Regions from separate parts of the Homo sapiens genome. Here all the other regions are linked to region 3. The links are contacts of gene promoters, found by promoter capture Hi-C in human tissues and cell types (Jung and others, 2019). All regions are on one chromosome and are shown on one strand. The core of a region is centred on a gene start or on the middle of the fragment in contact, and the rest is flanking DNA. Distances in the headings are between cores, read along the strand shown. Region 1 overlaps LOC105369309 (a long non-coding RNA gene). Region 2 has its middle 30 kb from the start of OR5AK2. Region 3 holds the start of APLNR (apelin receptor).

What was found. Contacts are between HindIII fragments. The study calls those that stand out against the background at their distance.
Region 1: a fragment that was not itself captured here is called in contact with the fragment with the promoter of APLNR in region 3 in 1 of the 25 tissues and cell types used here (adrenal gland).
Region 2: a contact is called between a fragment that was not itself captured here and the fragment with the promoter of APLNR in region 3, in 1 of the 25 tissues and cell types used here (adrenal gland).

Annotation. Positions count from the first base shown.
Region 1 is chr11:57,077,857-57,080,897 of GRCh38, reverse strand. All of the region lies in intron 6 of LOC105369309 (a long non-coding RNA gene), which reads left to right. Among named protein-coding and RNA genes, the nearest start is that of OR5AK2, 90 kb to the right of the region's middle. The HindIII fragment of the contact is 9,153 bases long and covers 1-3,041 here.
Region 2 is chr11:57,017,242-57,020,233 of GRCh38, reverse strand. It overlaps the pseudogene OR5AK1P. Among named protein-coding and RNA genes, the nearest start is that of OR5AK2, 30 kb to the right of the region's middle. The HindIII fragment of the contact is 4,836 bases long and covers 1-2,992 here.
Region 3 is chr11:57,236,000-57,239,094 of GRCh38, reverse strand. APLNR (apelin receptor) reads left to right here and starts at 1,845. Exons shown (of 1, transcript NM_005161.6): 1 at 1,845-3,095. The coding sequence starts at 2,091. RefSeq lists an enhancer at 1,571-2,203. The HindIII fragment of the contact is 13,017 bases long and covers 1-3,095 here.

The DNA.
Region 1 (3,041 bases), core at 524-3,023, 160 kb after region 3:
TTGCTGTGTAATAAATTACCTCAAAATTTAGTTGCTTAAAATAGGAAATATTTATTGCCTTTCCATGGGTTAAGAATCCAGATGTGGCTTTGCTGAGAACTTCTGGCTCAGGGTCTCTCACAGGCTGCTGTCTAGGTGTTAGCCAGGGCTGTGGTCTCATCTGAAGACTCTTCTGGAGGAGGATCCTCTTCCAAGTTCACTTACATGGCTCTTGGTAGGATTCCTTGAGGGCTGTTGGTTGTAAGCATCAGTTCCTTGCCCCATGGTCATGGGATAACTTACAAAGGGCAACTAGCAATATGGTAGCTGGCTTCCCTCAGAAGGGTAGTGAGGGGGAGAGAGTGGGAGACAAAAAGGGAGAGAGACAGGTTATAAAGAGAGAGAGAGAGACAGCGACAGAGAGAGAGAGAGAGAGATTGATTGATTCATTCATTCAGAATGGAAGCCAGAGACTTTTTGTATTTTAATCTTACTAATCTCTTGGAAGTGGCATCCCATTACTTTTTCAGTATTCTATTTACTATAAGGGAGTCACTAAGTCCTGCCCACACTCAGGGCATCAAGGGGAGTGGATAACACAGAGCATGCACACCAGGAGGCAGGTATCACTGGAGATCATCTCAGAGGTTGCTACCACAGTTATAGAAAGAAATAGAATATTCCCTGTTGAGTTTGGACATTACTGTGTTATCATTTGGGCAGGCATTAACCAGGCCCAGTTCATAGCAAGGTCCAGAATGAGGCAGCACCCAAGCCTTTATGTGAATGTGCAGGGTTTGAGCAGAGGCTTTTTTTTTTTAAAGGAAGCTAATTTCTTGTTGTCATAGTGGAGATAGAGGTAGCATGCTGTGGGAGCTAAGAGGCGGCTCATATTTTTTCCAGCAGAGAGATCAGGAAAGACTCCTTGGAGGCAACAATGTTTAAAATAGCTTTGAAAAAAAGAGAAAATAGTAGAGAAAGCAGAGCTGGGATGGGAGGAAAGGACATTTAAAGAGGCGGGGCAGTGTGAAAAGAGGCCCAGAGGTGGAGAAGGCCAGAGCATGCTGTGAGAAGGCCATGCTGAAGGTCAATGCTGAAAGTCAAAGAGATATTGTAAAAGTGACCTAGGATGAGTGTTCCCACCACATCCCTTCTACCATTTCTTCATGAGCTTTCAAAGCCACACCAGACAATGTGTCGTTGTGGAAGCACAACCTGTAATTGCACGCAGTTCAGTGTCTCCACACTTGTTTCAGGGAAATGGCTTTAGAGCTAACTCAGAGCTCCTACGTCAAGGAGAAAGTTCAAATACTTGTACAAAAAATTTTCAATAGATTTGTTGCTTTACGTGTTGTAGGACTATTTAAGTCTGAAAAGTTGGCGTCTTCAAGTCTGCTTTTCCCTAATTATTGTAGCGCTGACTGTATGTGGAAGTAGCCAAGTCCGTGAAATGTTTTTGGAGCGGCCCTACTGCCTACTTGATTTCCATCATTCTAATACATCTGAGGTGTTAAGGGAAGAAATATAGTATTTCCTGTTGAGATTGGACATTACTGTAGTGTTTTATCATTTGGGCACGCATGAATCAGGCCCAGTTCTTATCAAGGTACAGAATGAGGCTTAGAGTCATGCAGCACCCAGGACTTTATGTGAATGTGCAGGGTTTGAGCATAAGTTCTAGAAGCCTTCTGTCAAAATGCAAATAACCACCCTATGGCAAAGGTACTTTTATCACTTAGCTGGGAGATGGTGGGCACTCAATGGCTGCTTGGTGTCAGGGGCTGAACCAGAATCCAGAGAAGGTAGGGCCAGCTGAGGCACCACAGCGTGAGGGGTACATGGTTATCAGGGGACCCAAAGACAGCAGGAGGAGGATTCCAGAGGCCAGAGCAAGAATCCTACAAGGTTAGAGTTGGAAAAGCCTGAGAGTTTAAGATCACCACGTTATTTTTTAGTGAGGAATCTCAATGGAAAACTGAAATGGTAATATATGGCATGATAGCTCACTGCATGGAGGTGAAGCTGGAATTTAGGGCCCCCAAAATAAAATTGAGTGACGAGCCCCATTGTGCTAGCAGCAGAATCAAGAATAGTGCACAAGTCTACGTGACCTTCCAAGATCCTTCCTTTCAGTTCTAGCCTCTTTCTGCCATAAGCCCTTGGTTCCACACCTCTTCGTAGCCACTGCTGACCTACCTCACATTAAAGTGATAAGCATATGAATCTTTTTTCCCCTAAATAACTGAGCATTTATCGTTTGTGATTCAATGCACAGTCTCCCTCCTTCTGGTAGCAGCACCCTAAATTTCCCCTAGGAAACCCACTCTGCTCCCTCAGTTTTGTGATTGGGTAGAATTGGCCTCATCTTCAGATTCAGGGGCATGTGCTTCATTACCTCACCCTCTGCCACTGTTTCAGAGAGGGGAACACATCCCAAGCGGAATCTCTGTTGAGATATATCCTGGGACTTGTAGAAAGAAAGGCTTTCTCTTGTTTACCTGGCTTTGGTTGTGCAAGGCTTAGAGCTGTTTCAGTCATTTGCTACCAGGAAGGGGACCATCCTGAGGCTGAGAATAACACATAAAGGAGGCTGAGCTGAGACATGCAAAGAAACTAAGCTTGGATGTTATCATTTGAGTCTCTGGAACAACTAAAGCCAGTTTCAACCCTTAGAGTGTTTGGCTACTTGAGCCAATAACCTAGAGTGATCCTGTTAAAACCGAAGCCAGCGACTGGGCGTGGTGGCTGACACCTGTAATCCCAGCACTTTGGGAAGCCGAGGCCGGTGGATCACAAGGTCAGGAGTTCCAGACCAGCCTGACCAACATGGTGAAACCCAGTCTCTACTAAAAATACAAAAATTAGCTGGGCGTGGTGGTGTGTGCCTGTAATCCCAGCTACTCAGGAGGCTGAGAGGCAGGAGAATTGCTTGAGCCCAGAAGATGGAGGTTGCAATGAGCCGAGATCACACCACTGCACTCCAGCCTGTGACAGAGTGAGACTCTATCTCAACAAAACAAACAAACAAACAAACAAATGAAACACATAAGCCAGAAAATGGT
Region 2 (2,992 bases), core at 115-2,614, 220 kb after region 3:
CTTTTGTTTCTTTCTCTTGCCTAATTACTCTGCTTAGGACTTCTAGAACTATGTTGAACTATGGTGAGAGTGGGCACCCTTGTCTTGTTGCAGTTTTCAAGGGGGAATGCCTTCAGATTTTGCCCATTCATTATGACATTGGCTGTAAATTTGTCATAGATTGCACTTATTTTAAGGTACATTGCTTTGATGCTTAATTTGTAGAGAATTTTTACAACGAAGGGATGTTGCATTTTATTGAAGGCTTTTTTTGCATCTATTGAGATCATATGGTTTTTGCTTTAAATGCTGTTTATGTGGTGAATGACATTTCATGATTTGCATATATTGAACCAACCTTGCATCCAAAGAATGAAGCCTACTTGATCATGGTGAAATAACTTTGGATGTGCTGCTGAATTTGGTTTGCTAGTATTTCATTGATGGTTTTGCATCTATGTTCATCAGGAATATTGGCCTGCAGTTTTCTTTTTTCATTGTGTCTTTGTCAGGTTTTAGTATCAGAGACCTGATGCTGGTTTCATAGAATGAGTTGCAAAGGAGTCCCTCCTGCTCGATTTTTTGAAATAGTTTCAGTAGAATTGGCACCAGCTCTTCTTTTTACATCTGGTAGAATTTGACTGCAAATTCATCTGGTCTGTACTTTGTTTTTGGTTGGTAGATTTTTGGTACTGTTTTCACTTCAGAACTTGATACTGGTCTGCTCAGGGTTTCAATTTCTTCCTTATTAAATCTTGGGAGTTTGTGGGTTCCTAGGATTTTATCCATTTCCTCTATATTTTCTAGTCTATTTGCATAAAAGTGTTCATAATATTCTCTGAGTATCTTTTGTATTTCTGTGGGATTGGTTGTAATGCCACCTTTGTTCTTTCTGGCTGTGCTTATTTAGATGTTCCCTCTTTTCTCGTTGTGAATCTGGCTAGCAGCCTACCAATCTTATTTATTCTTCCAAGAAACCAAATTTTGGTTTCATTAAGTTTTTGCATAAATATTTGTGTCTTAATTTTGTTCAGTTCGGTTCTGATTTTAGTTACTTTTTCTTCTGCTAGCTTTGGGATTGGTTGGCTCTTGTATTTTAAATTCCTCTAGAGGTGATGTTAGATTATTAATTTGACATCTTTCTACATATTCCTTATTGTAGAAAAATTAAATTTTGGCAGAACAGCTATGTTGGATGATTTGTTGAGCTGAATGTTAACAACTGGGGCTGATTTAAAAGAACTTTTTCCCTATCAATTTTAAAGCTTCTTTTACTTCCTTATTTCTCAAGCTATAGATTAAAGGATTCAACATGGGAATAACAGTGCCATAAAATATAGAGGCCACTTTCATATTCTCCTGGGAATTATTAGAATGAGACTGGTAAGTGCATGTAAGAGAGTGTCCCATAGAAAATGGCAACTGTGGTCAGGTGGGAGGCACATGTTGAGAAGGATTTTTTCCTTCCTGCACTAGAAGACATTTTCAGGATGGTGGCCATGATGTAGATGTAGGAAAAGATGACTACCAACCCAGTGAACATCAAGTTAAATCCCACAAAGACAACAAGTAGCATGATGTTGATGTCAATATTGGAGCATGAAAGGGCAAGAATTGGGGGACCATCACAGAAAAAGTGGTTGATGTTATTGGACTTGCAGAAAGACAGTGAAAATGCAAAACCTGTATGTACAGAGGCATTTATTGAGCCCATGATGTATGAACCAGCTACCAAATGGATGCAGACTGTTTGGGACGTGATTACGGTATAGTGAAGGGGCTTACAGATTGCAACATAATGGTCCACTGCTATCATAGCCAGGAGATAACAGTCACTGGTTGCAAATGTTGCATAAACCAATAATTGTATCATGCAGCCCCAAAATGATATCAAATTCTTTTCTTCCGTGAAGCTTTGGAGCATCTTGGGAGTGATAGCAGAAGTGTAACAGATATCAACAAAAGCCAAATGTTGTAGAAAAAAGTACATGGGTGTTTGAAATCTGGAATCTGTGTTGATGAGTAAGATTATTCCACTATTACCCATTATGGAGGTCACATAGATGAGAAGGAATATAATGAAGAGGATACACCAAAACTCTTGCTAGGCACCAAATCCCAGAAGACAGAATTCAGTCACTTCAGTGCTGTTTCCTCATGCCATGGCTACCAAAACTCTAGAAATGACCAAGAGAAGGACCCAGAAAAGAAGGGAAATCCTTGTGACTTCTTGCAATGAAATGGCTCTGTATTTCACGTCACTTTTTTCTATTTGGATTTTCATGACAAATACTCCCAATAGTGTTACTCATTTTCAAATTAAAAAAATGTATTTATAATCATCAAGTAAAGAGTGATCTACTTGATGAAAGAGGAAATGAATTCATCTTCAAAAGGAAAAAGGTTGTCTTAGAAGAAGACTGACTTCTAATGTGTGTAGTTCTTAGAAATATAGATGAGCAATTTTTCACTATATTAAACAGGCATCCATACCTAAAGTAATATTAAAACATAATTTTGTACCCCTTTAGTAACCTACAATTGTTCACAGCCACCTACCATTTTAATTTTGGATAAAGCTCTTGAAATTAGTACAATAAACTAGAGATAAATTTCCCTAAATATATTCATGCTTTACATATGTTTGAAGGCTTCAAAGTATCTTTGTATTTATATCTTTAGAATGCAACTCCCATCTAGGTGATATTCTTTACAAGCAAAATAAACCTGTTATATAATTGATGTCTGAGAAATAGCCTTACATTTTCTATTGCTTTTTTTTTTCTGTTCTGTAGTGGAGGAACAAGAAAGCAGAAACAATTCTCTTCAATTTAACATTTAGTGAATACTGAGGTATATTAAGTTAGCATAAGTTTCTTCATAGGGTAAATTTACTGTAAAATGAAAGAAATGCAGTCCTTTCAAAAAGTGTTTCTTTCATTTGGATAAACACTTACTAGAGGAAGCTTGAATAGGCCAGAGGTCTAGTTAAGCTAGAATTTCAATAGAGTAA
Region 3 (3,095 bases), core at 596-3,095:
TGAGTTCCTTGATCTCTGCATATGATTTTCTGATCCACTCTCCCTCCAGAAAATGGATTCCAGCTTTTGTAGTAACTTAAGACAAATATATATCGTGAGACAGGGTCTTGGCTGTGTTATTCAGGCTAGTCTTGAACTCCTGGGCTCAAGCAGTCTTCCTGCCTTGGCCTCCCAAAGTGCTGGGATTATAGGCATGAGCCACCTTGCCTGGCCAATTCCAGCTTTTGTAAGTCTTTTGCCTTGGAAGTGGCTAAGGCTCAGCTCCTGCTTTTGTTCCATCTCACTATTACCCAACGTCAGGTGGCTTCCCCAACTCTTCAAGGTTGTGGAAAGGGTGCGTATTTTTTAAAAAAAATCTTACGTCGTGCATCTTCCTTCCTTCCTAGAGGTCCTGGAGAGGTGATGAGCTGGGGCAAAGTGAGCGTCTACGGAACTTTCCCCACAGTATCCTCCAGTGACTGAGTCTTTCTCTAGAGACCCCCCTCCTCTAGCTCAACTTCCTGACCCCCTGTGGTCTTACAGAAACCTCTTGGTCCATGGAGGATAGTAAAAACCTGAGAACTGAAATGTATCCATGTTCTCACCACGTAGTAATTCTTACACTTGTTCTTCCATCTATGGATTCCCCTTTTCACTCACCTCCTACATCATCCATCCACTTACTCACTCAACAGCCATTCACCTGGCTGGGCGTGGTGGCTCATGCCTGTAATTTCAGCACTTTGGGAGGCCGAGGTGGGTGGATCATCTGAGGTCAGGAGTTTGAGACTAGCCTGGTCAATCCCCATCTCTACTAAAAATACAAAAAAATTAGCCTGCAATCCCAGCTACTAGGGAGGCTGAGGCGGGAGAATCGCTTGAACCCAGGAGGCAGAAGTTGCAGTGAGCCTAGACCAGCCTGGGCAACAAGAGTGAAACTCTGTCTCAACAAACAAACAAACAAACAAAACAGCCATTCACCTACGACATGCCAGGTACTGTATTATGTTCGTGTTTGGAGAAGAAGAAAAGCAAACAATCAACTGTAGCATAATTCACTTTATTACCTTGGGCAAAACATTGACCTTGTTGGGCCTTTGTTTCCTACAGATTTAATGACTTGTTTAGAGATAATTTTGTCCTGGGTTTCTTCCATCCTGTGACTGCCCTCAACCTTCTAAAGCATCCTGTGCCTTCCGCAAACTGCAAACTGCAGTCTACACTAGTGTAGGGGTATTTCTCTAGAAACCACAAAAGTTCTCAGAGGGAGGGTCAAAGCCAAGGGGTAGAGAAAGATGAAGCGAGAGGCAAAGTGGGAGAAGACCCTCCTGTGACACCTGGTCTGGGTGGGGGCTGGGGGTGCAGGAAGGGAGCCGAGGGGGCCAGACCTGCCTGCCAGGAGGACCTGCCAGATGCCCTGCCCATCCTGCGAAATCTTACACCCTCCTTGCTCCCTACCAGCCCTGGCTCCAGCTCAAGCTGGATTGCAATCTGCATAATGTGTCCCATTTAGATTGGATGGAAGGGGGTGAGAACAGGAGGGCGGAGAGCACTGAGGAGGGAGTGCCCTAAAGGGCAGGCAGGAAGTGGTGGCCAGAGGAAAGTGGAGGGATAGGGGCTGGGGTGAAGGTGGGTGGCAGCCAGAAAGGAGAGGCGGGGCCAGGAAAGCCGACTTGCAAAACCACAGATAATGTTCAGCCCAGCACAGTAGGGGTCAATTTGGTCCACTTGCTCAGTGACAAAAAGAAAAAAAAAGTGGGCTGTCACTAAAGATTTTGACTCACAAGAGAGGGGCTGGTCTGGAGGTGGGAGGAGGGAGTGACGAGTCAAGGAGGAGACAGGGACGCAGGAGGGTGCAAGGAAGTGTCTTAACTGAGACGGGGGTAAGGCAAGAGAGGGTGGAGGAAATTCTGCAGGAGACAGGCTTCCTCCAGGGTCTGGAGAACCCAGAGGCAGCTCCTCCTGAGTGCTGGGAAGGACTCTGGGCATCTTCAGCCCTTCTTACTCTCTGAGGCTCAAGCCAGAAATTCAGGCTGCTTGCAGAGTGGGTGACAGAGCCACGGAGCTGGTGTCCCTGGGACCCTCTGCCCGTCTTCTCTCCACTCCCCAGCATGGAGGAAGGTGGTGATTTTGACAACTACTATGGGGCAGACAACCAGTCTGAGTGTGAGTACACAGACTGGAAATCCTCGGGGGCCCTCATCCCTGCCATCTACATGTTGGTCTTCCTCCTGGGCACCACGGGCAACGGTCTGGTGCTCTGGACCGTGTTTCGGAGCAGCCGGGAGAAGAGGCGCTCAGCTGATATCTTCATTGCTAGCCTGGCGGTGGCTGACCTGACCTTCGTGGTGACGCTGCCCCTGTGGGCTACCTACACGTACCGGGACTATGACTGGCCCTTTGGGACCTTCTTCTGCAAGCTCAGCAGCTACCTCATCTTCGTCAACATGTACGCCAGCGTCTTCTGCCTCACCGGCCTCAGCTTCGACCGCTACCTGGCCATCGTGAGGCCAGTGGCCAATGCTCGGCTGAGGCTGCGGGTCAGCGGGGCCGTGGCCACGGCAGTTCTTTGGGTGCTGGCCGCCCTCCTGGCCATGCCTGTCATGGTGTTACGCACCACCGGGGACTTGGAGAACACCACTAAGGTGCAGTGCTACATGGACTACTCCATGGTGGCCACTGTGAGCTCAGAGTGGGCCTGGGAGGTGGGCCTTGGGGTCTCGTCCACCACCGTGGGCTTTGTGGTGCCCTTCACCATCATGCTGACCTGTTACTTCTTCATCGCCCAAACCATCGCTGGCCACTTCCGCAAGGAACGCATCGAGGGCCTGCGGAAGCGGCGCCGGCTGCTCAGCATCATCGTGGTGCTGGTGGTGACCTTTGCCCTGTGCTGGATGCCCTACCACCTGGTGAAGACGCTGTACATGCTGGGCAGCCTGCTGCACTGGCCCTGTGACTTTGACCTCTTCCTCATGAACATCTTCCCCTACTGCACCTGCATCAGCTACGTCAACAGCTGCCTCAACCCCTTCCTCTATGCCTTTTTCGACCCCCGCTTCCGCCAGGCCTGCACCTCCATGCTCTGCTGTGGCCAGAGCAGGTGCGCAGGCACCTCC